Regions from separate parts of the Homo sapiens genome. Here region 1 is linked to region 2. Evidence: promoter capture Hi-C in human tissues and cell types (Jung and others, 2019). All regions are on one chromosome and are shown on one strand. Each heading gives the region's core, a stretch centred on a gene start or on the middle of the fragment in contact. The rest is flanking DNA. Distances are from core to core; before and after follow the strand shown.

The links. Contacts are between HindIII fragments. The study calls those that stand out against the background at their distance.
Region 1: a contact is called between the fragment with the promoter of ELAVL3 here and the fragment with the promoter of YIPF2 in region 2, in 3 of the 25 tissues and cell types used here (dorsolateral prefrontal cortex, hippocampus and lymphoblastoid cells).

What each region holds. Positions count from the first base shown.
Region 1 is chr19:11,478,325-11,483,661 of GRCh38, reverse strand. It overlaps ELAVL3 (ELAV like RNA binding protein 3), which reads left to right and starts at 2,616. Exons shown (of 7, transcript NM_001420.4): 1 at 2,616-3,062. The coding sequence starts at 3,054. ZNF653 (zinc finger protein 653) reads left to right here. Exons shown (of 9, transcript NM_138783.4): 9 at 1-233. RefSeq lists silencers at 810-1,249, 1,280-1,529, 3,904-4,098. The HindIII fragment of the contact is 31,814 bases long and covers 1-5,337 here.
Region 2 is chr19:10,924,394-10,929,965 of GRCh38, reverse strand. It overlaps YIPF2 (Yip1 domain family member 2), which reads left to right and starts at 1,327. Exons shown (of 10, transcript NM_001321439.2): 1 at 1,327-1,455; 2 at 1,526-1,586; 3 at 2,007-2,167; 4 at 2,250-2,336; 5 at 4,193-4,280. The coding sequence starts at 1,556. It overlaps TIMM29 (translocase of inner mitochondrial membrane 29), which reads right to left and starts at 1,155. Exons shown (of 2, transcript NM_138358.4): 1 at 1,050-1,155; 2 at 1-952. The coding sequence starts at 1,143. The coding sequence ends at 264. RefSeq lists silencers at 710-759, 800-1,079 and enhancers at 1,293-1,993, 1,994-2,696. The HindIII fragment of the contact is 42,517 bases long and covers 1-5,572 here.

The DNA of each region.
Region 1 (5,337 bases), core at 1,367-3,866, 550 kb before region 2:
CCCTATTTATTCGTCCGCTCGGACACCACGCCCGGGCTTGCCGGGGCCTGGACAGCTGCGAGGGCCGCCCGGACCGCGGGCCGGAAGGAGGCGCCCCCGCCCCGCCCCAGAGCTGGGCCCCCTGGGCAGGTTCCCCACCCCGCCCCACCGCATCCTTCTCGGAGCTGGTGCCTGGGGCTGCATTGCTGGAACTGTGTCAAGAGAGCAGAGTGAGATTAAAGAGCGAGAAAGGAGATGCCCTTCCCCTAGGCCTGAATGATTTGGGGTGCCAGGCCCCTCTCTGTCTCCAGCCTACTTGATCCCTTCCTAAGCGAGGCAGGGAACGAGGGATGCCCCTGGGCCCAGCAGCCTCGCACAGCCCCTGCTCCCACAGGATGGGGTGAGGCTTGGGGGTCTGGGGTCTCTGGGCATCTCCCGGAACTCAGGACCCTAATTTCCACTTCCTCCTGTTTTATGGGGCACCCATCTCCCACCCTCAGTGAGCTCCGGGATGAGATGGGGAGGTGTTCAGTAAACCCCTAAAATGAGAAACATTTGCAGCTAGCGACAAGCGCCATGCAAAAGAGAGAGTGATGCGTTGTTTTCCGGGGATGCTGTTTAGGTCGGTGGTCAGGGAGGGCCTCTGAGGAGGTGGCATTTGCGCATAGACCAGAATGACAAAGATCTATCCCAGAAGAAAGCTGGGGGAGGAAATTCTCAGGCCAGAGGAACAACCAGTGCCAAAACCCCGAGGTAGAACTAGCTCGGCGTGTTCCTAAAACAGGAAGCCGCGGGGGGAAGGGGAGTTGGCGGCGGCTGCCCTGGCCCCATTTCCCGGAGGAGGATGCTGAGGCCGCCGCCTCCTGCGGGCCGCTAGAGAGAGGGGCGGGGAGCGAGGCGCGGCCGCTAGGTGGCGTGCGAGGCGCGTAGGCCCTGGTGGCCGCAGCCACGTGACCCTGGGGACCGCAGCCGCGAGCTCAGGCACGTGCCCGGGGGAGCCCTGTGGCGCCACGCGCAGATTGGCCCCGCCGGTTCCTCACCAGTTCGGGGGATGAGGCGGGGCCCCAGCTATGCCTCAGTTCCTGCTGCGGACCGGGGGGCTACCCCAGCCGGGGACAGAAGAATCGGCAAGGATGAGCGAGTCCGGCCGCTGGGGCCGCCCCCGCGAGCTCCCTCCCCCCGCGAGGCAGGTCCCCTCCACTCTCCCCGCACTGCCGGAGCCGGCAGGTTTCCATGGGAACCGCAGCGGGGTCCGCGCGCCCAGGAGCAGCCCCCCTCCTAGCTCAGTTTCCGATGACGGAAACCGGGAGGAACACGGGGTGGGGAACAGACCATCGCTTGGGGCCCCTAGCGCCCGCAGCCAGGTCGCCCCGGCGAGCCCAAGAGGGGCCACCCGGGGATCTGCACCGCCACCGCCCCTATTGCGCGGGCCACTGCGATTGGCCTGCCCTTTCCAGGCGTGGCAGCATCCCCTGGTGCGCGCACTCCCATTGGCTCGATCTCTAGGGCATCTTCCAGTAACTGGTTATCTCAAGGGCCGCCCCTGATTGGGCAAATTAGGCTCTCCTCGCTGGTGGCGCTCTCTGACAGTCTGGAGCCTAAAGGGCGTGCAGGAACGAGGATTGGGTGGGGACTGCCGCTCTCCAGTTAGGGGGTCTGGGCTACCTCGCCGGCAGCGCCCTCGACCGGACTGTCGGATTGCTGTCTGTGGTGCTGAAGCCTCACGCCCTGGCGACCCCGCCCCAGTGTGTGCTAGTTCCCGCGCCCCGACGTAAACATGCACCGGCGCCCGCGCACCAAAGGAGGCTGCGCCACCCCCAACGCCTTAGAGAGAGGCCAGGTTCCCCCTAGCAGAGAGCGAGCATGACTCCACAGTCAGGAGGACCAATCACGAGCCTAGAAAGCCAGGACATTTATGTGGCAGATCCACCCACCCCAGTTCTGTGGGGTCCAAGAAGGATCCGTGGTTTCCCAGAGCTGCATGGCTCCAGCGATGATTGTCCAGAACACTGAGCCCCAAACCTTTTCACCCCCTTCGGAGCAGTGCGGAGTTTCCTTGCACTGGGGAGTGCCAGTCCTTACCTTTTGAACCCTAGAAGGATCCAGCTCACTCAAAACCAACAGCGTCCCAGTCTCCTTCTGCAGAAGACTAGGGCCACAGTAGCCACCCTCCCCCGTGGTCTTGAGGTGGTCTACACTGGTGCCTCCAAATCTGGGGACCCAGGCCTCTGCCTACTAAAATATTGGTTCCTGATCCCCTGTCCAGTTCCCTCAGTGGACAACACCTCTGGAAGGTCGCATATTCAGGCCACTAATACCTCCTCGCTCTGTTGGCTCCTCCAGCTCTAGGAGCTGGACGGAGGAGGGGAGCCCGTCTCCTGGCCCGAAAGCCAGCCCAAGAAGGGGTGCCAGGGTAGGAAGCAAGGGCCTCGAGGGAAGGAGGGCCCAAATCTGGCAACCCGAGCACCTAGGATGCGCTTTTGGGGGATTCAGAGTCCCGACCAGTGCGCGCTCACTTCCACCTGCCGCGCCGTCGGGAGCCGCGAGGAGGCGGAGCTCGGTCGCCGCAGCCAATGAGCGACGCCGGCGCTGGCAGCTGCTGCTATAAAGGGCTGGGGGCGGCGGCGGCGCGGTCCAGAGCGCGGAGCGCGCAGCGCGGGCCGGAGGGAGGGAGGGAGGGTGGGCGAGGGGAGAGGACTTGAACACACGGGACCGGACAGGACCGACCGAGGGGCGGCGGCGAAAGGCAGAGCGCCGCGATCTCTGTCGGGAAGCGCAACCTCCCCGGGCCCCGCGGGGCCGCGCAGGGGGCGTCCTCAACCCCGCGCCCGCTCCCTCTTTCCATCCCCTGCCGCCCGCAGGCCACCCCGGGGCCCGGCCATCCGCGCGCGCATCCCCGGGTTCGGGCCCGTCCCTGGCCCTCGAGGGAGCCGCCGCCTTCATCGCCACATCTGCAGCGGCCGCACCAGAGGCCGCCCGGGCGGGACCCCAGCGTGAGCATCGGGCGCCCCCCTAGGAGTGCACCACCCCCGGAGCCCCCCTCAACACGGACCGCGCCCGCCGGGCACACAAGAATGGTCACTGTAGGTATTCCCCTGTCGCCGAAAGGGAATCGGGACGGGGAGGAGTTGGGCCCAGGCTCCGCGGAGATTGGGCGGGTGCGGCGGGGGGGGTAGGACCAGGCCTAGCTAGGCCCGGGTTGGGGGGGTAGGACCAAGCCTCGGGGCCTGAGAGTGGGCAGGGCCGCGCCCAGAGTGCTGAGGGCGCTTAGAGCTTGGTCTGAGAGGGCCTTAGGGAGACTGACTGCGATTCGGGAGGCGTCCGACGCCGCCCTGGAGGCGGGATTGCCCCCTCTCCAGCAGGCCTGATGGGGGAGGGGCCGCGGCGGCTAAGGATGCTTCCTCCATCCAGGCCCAGACCCCGCAGGCCGCCCAGGCAAACGCAGGGCCCGATCACTGGTGCTGGGCCAAGCCAAAGCGACAAAGCGTCCCCGAGAGCCCTGGGAAAGCGGGTGGCGTCGGATCGCGCGCCCCGGGCCTCGGCCGCACCCGGGAGGCGGGCGTCTCGTCCTCGAGCCCGTCGACCTTGCGGCAAGCGGGGAGGGGAGAGGAGGGGGCGCGCCCGGAGGCCCCGCGGGCCCGCCGCCGCTGCTGCCGCGTCCCTTTGTTTCTCGGCGCTTCTTCGCGGGCCGCAGCCTCGCGCGGGCGCCTCGGGCTGCGGGGAGGGGGAGGGGAGAGGAGGGCCCGCGGGTTGGGGGGGCACCTCTGGGCTCCCGGGTCTCCGCCCCCCGGGAGATGGGGTGGGAGGCCGAGACAGCCCCCTTAGGCCAGGTCCAGGCTCCCCACCTCGCCAAGGCTCTGGGCCGCGAGGTGACCTTGAGCGCGGCCCGCCCGCCTGCTCGCCCGCACCGCTAGCCCCGCGCTCGGTGCTTTCAGCAGCCACGGAGCTGGTCAGCTCCCGAGCGCGCAGCCCCTCCCGCCCTGCCACGCCCTGCCTGGCCACGCCCGGGCACGCCCATCTAGGCCCCGCCCCCAGGGCCCCGGGGGCCCGGCCTCGCCCGAGCCCTCGGATTCCCACTCGGCAGCCCGGGCGTATCCCGGGGGCGGGGCTGGCCAGTTATAGCCCCACCCCGGCTCCACCCCCGCCCCTGCCGCGCGACTCCGCTCCCCGCGCCGCCGCGCGTCCTTTGTCTGGTCCCGGCGCCTGGGCCTCCCTCTTCCACTCTTCCTATCTCTCCGTCTCTGCGTGTGTGTCTCTGTGCATTGTGTCTCTTTCCGGGCCCCTTTTTCGAGTCGTGGCTAGCACTGGGGGTGGGGGCATGATTGGCGCTCCCTCCATGCCTAAGCCTCTCCCCTCCTGGACCCTGGGACCCGCCCACCTGGCTCTGAGAAATGAGGTCCCGGAGGCCTGGCTCACCTGCTGTGTGACCTCAGGCCGTTCCTTTCCCTCTCTGGGCCTCGTGCTGTTCACCCAGGTCTGGGAACTGGAGTGTGGCCTCCTGAGGACCTCAGAACTCCCGCAACAGTCCAGCATCTCCTAAGCGTCCTCTGATCGGTTCTCTCATTTGAAAAAGGAAACTAATGCACAAAGGGAAAGAGGGTGTGGTCAGAGGTCACACAAGGGCCTTGAGGACCTAGGTTCTCCAGTGAGCGAGCCCTGGGGCAGAGATGTATCATGGGGACAGGCTGGGAGGAAGAGAGGTGACAAATTAAGACCAGGAGGACCCTGCATTGAAGAAGGGCCCAGAAGTAGGAGGCTCAGTCAGCACCACGTGGTAGCCCAGCCTCACCATGCATAGCCACTCAATGCCCTATTGTCGCCGGTATCCAGGCATCTGTCACTGTGACTGGGGCCAGGGGCCGCAGCTGGGGGCCGTGGGGGTCAGACACAGGAGGTTTTAAGAAAAAAGTGGCCTCAGGTGTGTTCACTGCAAAACCCATACGTCAGATGTATGTGCGATGGTGGAAAAGAGGAAGAGAGAGTGATGAGGCCAGGGACACAGAACGGTTCAGAGAGAGGGCAGGACAGTGGAGAAGAGAGGGAAACAGAGGAAGAAAGAGGGAGAGAGAAACCAAAAGTCGGGGGAGACTTAGAAGAAGCACTGGAGAGAATGGGAAGCTTCCCTAACCCTCCATCTTTTATCTGCCCTCCTCCTCCCTGACTTTGCCACCCCCCCATCTCTGTCTGGGGCCAGTCGCCGAAGTCCCTTTGATGCCCATGTAGCCACCATCCCAGGCTGTGCACTTACTGCAGGCTGGGGCAGGGCGGGTGTGGCTTCCATCAATCTGATCCCCATTATCAGCTCAGCCGGCTCAGCCACAGAGGAAACGAGATACTGGTCCCGCTAAGCTCTGGCAC
Region 2 (5,572 bases), core at 78-2,577:
TAAAAGGCTCATGACCAGCTCTGCCAGTGATGAACATGTGTCAAGTCGTTCTGCTGTCCCCAACTCCCGGACCCAGGTGGCTCTGAATTAGCTTCAGCTAATAAAGAACAAAGACGGGGGGCAGAAAGGCTCCCCAAACTTGTGCAAATCCAGTGAGAAAACACTTTGCACATCATCTGTCTCAGCTGTTCTGCAGGTGAGGCACACTCAGAACTGCACCACCCCAGGCAAGCAGTTTGCCAGGACTCGGGGGCCTCAGGGTTTCATCTCGGGGCCTCCGCCTGCACCAGCGAGTGGGCCTGGCTCAGGGCGAGCCTGTCCTTCTTCTCCTTCTGCAAGACCTGCTCCTCCCACAGCGCCTGGTCCACCTGATCGTCGGTGAGCACGACAGGCTTGTACTTCTCATCGAAGAGCCGCTCGTTGGTCTCGGAATGCAGCTGCTGGGGCCCGACCACCCGCAAATGCGCCGGCAGGTGCAGGAATTCGTCGTCGTTGATGTCGCAGTCGCGCATCCAGGCCCCCAGCACCCACCAGCGACCCACGAAGCCCACGTCCAGGACCCGGCCGGGGAAGTCGGTCCAGCGGGGCTGCAGGTAGCGGCAACGCGCCTGGTAGAGGCTGGCCTGGGCGTCGAAGGGCGCCTCGTACACCAGCGAGCAGAGCCCCAGGTTGACGTAGCGCAGGCGGCCACGGCCCCGCAGCCAGAGCAGCCTCTGCACGAAGGCTTCGGACTCGCGGTTGCGGGTGGCCGGCGCCAGCAGCAGGAGGGTCCCCGACGCCTCCAGCAGCGCCTCCTCGAAGGCACCCTCGCTGGGCGCCAGCGTGAAGCAGGCCGCCGCGCCGCCCAGCAGACCCACATACACAGCGGCGCGCCCCGGCCGGGCCCTAGCCTCCGCCGAAGCGTCCCTGCAGGCCTCGGCGTAGTCCCGGAGCAGCGCGCGGGCCCAGGACCCTGAGGGGAGAGGAGCGCGGTAAGAGTGATCCGGCCGCGGCGGCCACCCACCCTGTCGCGGCGGCCACCCACCCTGCCGCCTTCCGCCGCTACTCACCCAGCCGCGCCCACACTCCCGGCTTCGCCACTACCGCGTCGCCCGCCTCTGCGCGGCGCCGGGACCAAAATCTCCTCAGAGCCGCCGCGGCCATCCTCTTCCGTCTTGGGGGTCCTTGCTCCGGGAAGAAACTCCTGATACCCGACGTTAAGAGCCCGGGAGTCTCTTCTGCGCAAGCGCCAACTTTACCGGAAGTGGCTTCCCAACGGGAGAGGATAGAAAGAGGACAGGCGCCGGATGTTGCTGTCAGGTCTGAGTCGGTTGGAGTCTGACGGGTAGGCGAGACGCGCAGGCGCAGAGAGCCCCAGCCACGCCGGCCCAGGTGGCCTCAGGTGAGGGGGGGCGGAGCGCACCTGTGGGGACGGGACGACGAGTTCAAGCCTCCGTGGGTGCAGTTGGTCGCCAGGTAGGGCTGGGGGCCGAGGGACCGGCTCGGGGGCGGGGGGGAAGTGTGCCTGACCGGTCTCTGTCCTCAGCGAGGGATGCGGAGACGCCCCTGAACGACCATGGCATCGGCCGACGAGCTGACCTTCCATGGTGAGTGCGGCCCCGACGTGGCCGGATCTCCCACTCCCGCCCCGGGCCAGAACCTCCCCCCGATACGGCTTCCAATTTCTCTACCCCGAAGCCTAGGCGGCTGTGAACCCTGACCCAGGAGTGAGACCCATCTCTGACTCGAACCCCGCCCCCGCCCTGAACTCAGACCTCAAACCCGAGCCTCTCGTCCCCAGACCCTGACCCCATCCCAGCGTCAACCCTAAGTTGCAGTTCCACTTTAGGAGGAAGGGAACAGATGTCCTCCGGATGCCTCCAAACTGAGGAAGTTGGGCCCCACCTTGGGGGAGATCAATGGCTCAGCAGAGCCTCCGCCCCCAGATGAGCATCGGTTTAGCTTGGGCCCAGTCGAGTTCTTTCCACCCCTCAAACGTGCGTGTGTCCCATATACCTCCTCCACAGAATTCGAGGAGGCCACTAATCTTCTGGCTGACACCCCAGATGCAGCCACCACCAGCAGAAGCGATCAGCTGACCCCACAAGGGCACGTGGCTGTGGCCGTGGGCTCAGGTGGCAGCTATGGAGCCGAGGATGAGGTGGAGGAGGAGAGTGACAAGGCCGCGGTGAGTCCCTGTGTCCTGCCTCCTTGCAGCCCCCAGCTGACCCAGGCTCTCCGGGCAGGCACTGAATGCCCGCAATGTGCAGCTCCTGCAGGAGCAGCAGCAGCAGCAGCAGCCGGGATTCTGGACCTTCAGCTACTATCAGAGCTTCTTTGACGTGGACACCTCACAGGTCAGGCTGGGGAGGCAGGTGGGATGGGGCTCAGAGTTATGCTCAGGGTTCAGCCACTCTTCCCCTGGGCAGGGTGCTGGTGATGGTGGGTGCTGGTGAACGAACTGTGGTGCTCTCAAAGGGTTATGGTGGGACTGGTTATGGATCGGGACTATGGGAACACAGGGGACACACACAATCTGGTGGGTTAGAGAAAGGCCTCCTGGGGGAGGTGAGGAATTGGCTGAGACCTAAAGGAGACAGAAGGCTTCCCTGGGGAATAGGGTAGGGAAGCAGGAGTATATGTTCCAGGCACAGGGAACAGCATATGCAGAAGACCAAAGATGGACTGGGCGCAGTGGCTCCTGCCTGTAATCCCAGCACTTAAGGGGGCCGAGGTGGGCAGATAACCTGAGGAGTTCAAGACCAGCCTGGCTAACATGGGGAAACCCCGTCTCTACCAAAAATACAAAAACTGCCGGGTGCGGGGTGGCTCATGCCTGTAATCCCAGCACTTTGAGAGGCCTGGGTGGGTGGATCACCTGAGGTCAGGAGTTTGAGACCAGCCTGGCCAAACATGGTGAAACCCCGTCTCTACTAAAAATACAACAAAATTAGCCGGGCTTTGTGGTGGGCGCCTGTAATCCCAGCTACTCTGGAGGCTGAGGCAGGAGAATCGCTTGAATCCGCCAGGCGGAGGTTGCAGTGAGCCAAGATCGTGCCAGTGCACTCCAGCCTGGGCAAAAAGAATGAGACTCTGTCTCAAAAATAAAATAAGATAAATAAAATAAAATTAAATAAAAAATAAAATAAAATAGAAAAATTAGCCAAGTGCAGTGGTCGGCGCCTGTAATCCTAGCACTTTGGGATGCCGAGGCGGTGGATCACTTGAGGTCAGGAGTTGGAGACCAGCCTGGCCAACGCGGTGAAACCCCATCTCTACTAAAAATACAAAAATTAGCCAGGCATGGTGGCACACACCTGTAGTCCCAGCTACTCAGGAGTCTGAGGCTCGAGAATCACTTGAACCTGGGAGGCGGAGGTGGTAGTGAGCCAAGATCGTGCCACTGCACTCCAGCCTGAACAGAGTGAGACTCTGTCTCAAAAAGAAAAAGGGGGTGCTGAGGCCGGGTGCGGTGGCTCACGCCTGTAATCCCAGCACTTTGGGAGGCCAAGGTGGGAGGATCATGAGGTCAGGAGATCGAGACCATCCTGGCTAACACGGTGAAACCCCATCTCTACTAAAAATACAAAAAATTAGCCGGGGGTGGTGGTGGGCGCCTGTAGTCCCTGCTCTTTGGGAGGCTGAGGCAGGAGAATGGTGTGAACCCAGGAGGCGGAGCTTGCAGTGAGCCGAGATGGCACCACTGCACTCCAGCCTGGGTGACAGAGCGAGACTCCGTCTCAAAACAAAAAAAAAAAGAGGGAAAAAAAAGAGGGGGCTGGGAACGGTGGCTCACGCCTGTAATCCCAGTACTTTGGGAGGCCGAGGTGGGTGGATTACCTGAGGTCAGGAGTTCGAGACCAGCCTGGCCAACATGGTGAAATCCCGTCTCTATTAAAAATACAACTATTAGCCAGGCGTGGTGGCACACGCCTGTAATCCCAGCTACTCGGGTGGCTGAGGTAGGAGAATTGCTTGAGCTCGGGAGGCAGAGGTTGCAGTGAGCCGAGATCATGCCACTACTCCATCCAGCCTGGCCGACAGAGCAAGACTCTGTCTCAAAAAAAAAAAAAAAAAAAAAGAGAGGGAAAGGCTGAGTTCTTTCAGGTGGGGCATGGAAAGAGAAGGGTGGAGGTCAGCAGGGAAGGAGCCTCTCAGGACAAGGGAGAAGCTCCTGGCAGACTTCCATCCTTGACCTTGGCCTTGCCCCCAGGTCCTGGACCGGATCAAAGGCTCACTGCTGCCCCGGCCTGGCCACAACTTTGTGCGGCACCATCTGCGGAATCGGCCGGATCTGTATGGTGAGTGAGGTTGTGCATTTGGTTCCTTGATGGATCACTCAACAAGTGTGGCCTGAGTTGCAGATGCCAGTGTATAGCTGCGGACAAATCAGTCACTCAGACAGTGTGACTTACCTGCTGTTCAGGGAGACAGAGACATGAAGGACTGCAGAGGGTGGCGGGTAGAGAGCAGCAGAGCAGACAGGAGGAGTGGCCCTGCAGTTCTGCAGGGTGCAGCAGGGCAGGCCTCCCTGAGGAGGGTGAGGGAATGAGCCTTGTTGGCAACAGGAGGGGTGGGGGAGACCTAGGAAAAGAGGCTTCCAGAAACGACGTAAGCTTCATGGCAGGAACTTGCATGAACTGCAGGGCGGCATTACCACTGGAGCGAGTGAGCTGCAGGGAGGTCACAGGCGAGGGGACAGATCACACAAGCCTCCCATGCTGTGGCAAGAAGAGATCTTTTTTTTTTTTTTTTGAGACAGAGTCTCACTCTGTCACCCAGGCTGGAGTGCAGTGATGTGATCTCAGCTCACTGCAATCTTCCCCTCCCGCATTCAAGCGATTCTCCTGCTTCAGCCTCCTGAGTGGCTGGGATTACAGGCACGTGCCACCATGCCCGGCTGATTTTTATATTTTTATTAGGGACGGAGTTTCACCGTGTTAGCCAGGCTGGTCTCAAACTCCTGACCTCAGGTGATCCACCCGCCTCGGCCTCCTAAGTGCTGGAATTACAGGTGTGAGTCACTGTTATCTGGCCGAGAATGGATCTTTAAGTGTTTTCGGGGTCCCTCTCGCCATCATGAGTGGCGAGGGCGGAAGCCAGGAGGCTGGGGTGGAGGCGGCCACATGGTGGGGACTGTGGATGTGGAGAGTGGCACTGGATTCTGGAACGTGCTGGGGAAGTAGAAGAGACTGGCTTTGTGGCTAGATAGGTGGGGGTGGGGGGAGTGGGAGGTTAGGAGCGGAGGCAGGCTCTAGGGATTTCTGCCTGGACTAACGGGATGGATAGAGTTGCCACGTATCCACGGGACCAGCTTGGCAGTGAGGGCAGAGGGCAAGGGTGTGGATGAAGCCGGAGATGCCCACCCGGGAGCTTGAACTGGAGCCTGCAGTGCTCAGGGCAGAGCCCTGGGCTCTAGAGGAGGCATAAGGCCCTGGGCTTGAAGGAGGTCATACTATGGGTGAACGCAGACATGGAAGGGGCCAAGAACTGGGCCTGGCTGCTCCCCATGGCTGAAGGGGTCAGAGAGTCAAAGAGGAGGTGACAGGGGTTGAGGAATTGGCACCAATGAGGTGAGACACAGGCCAAGGGT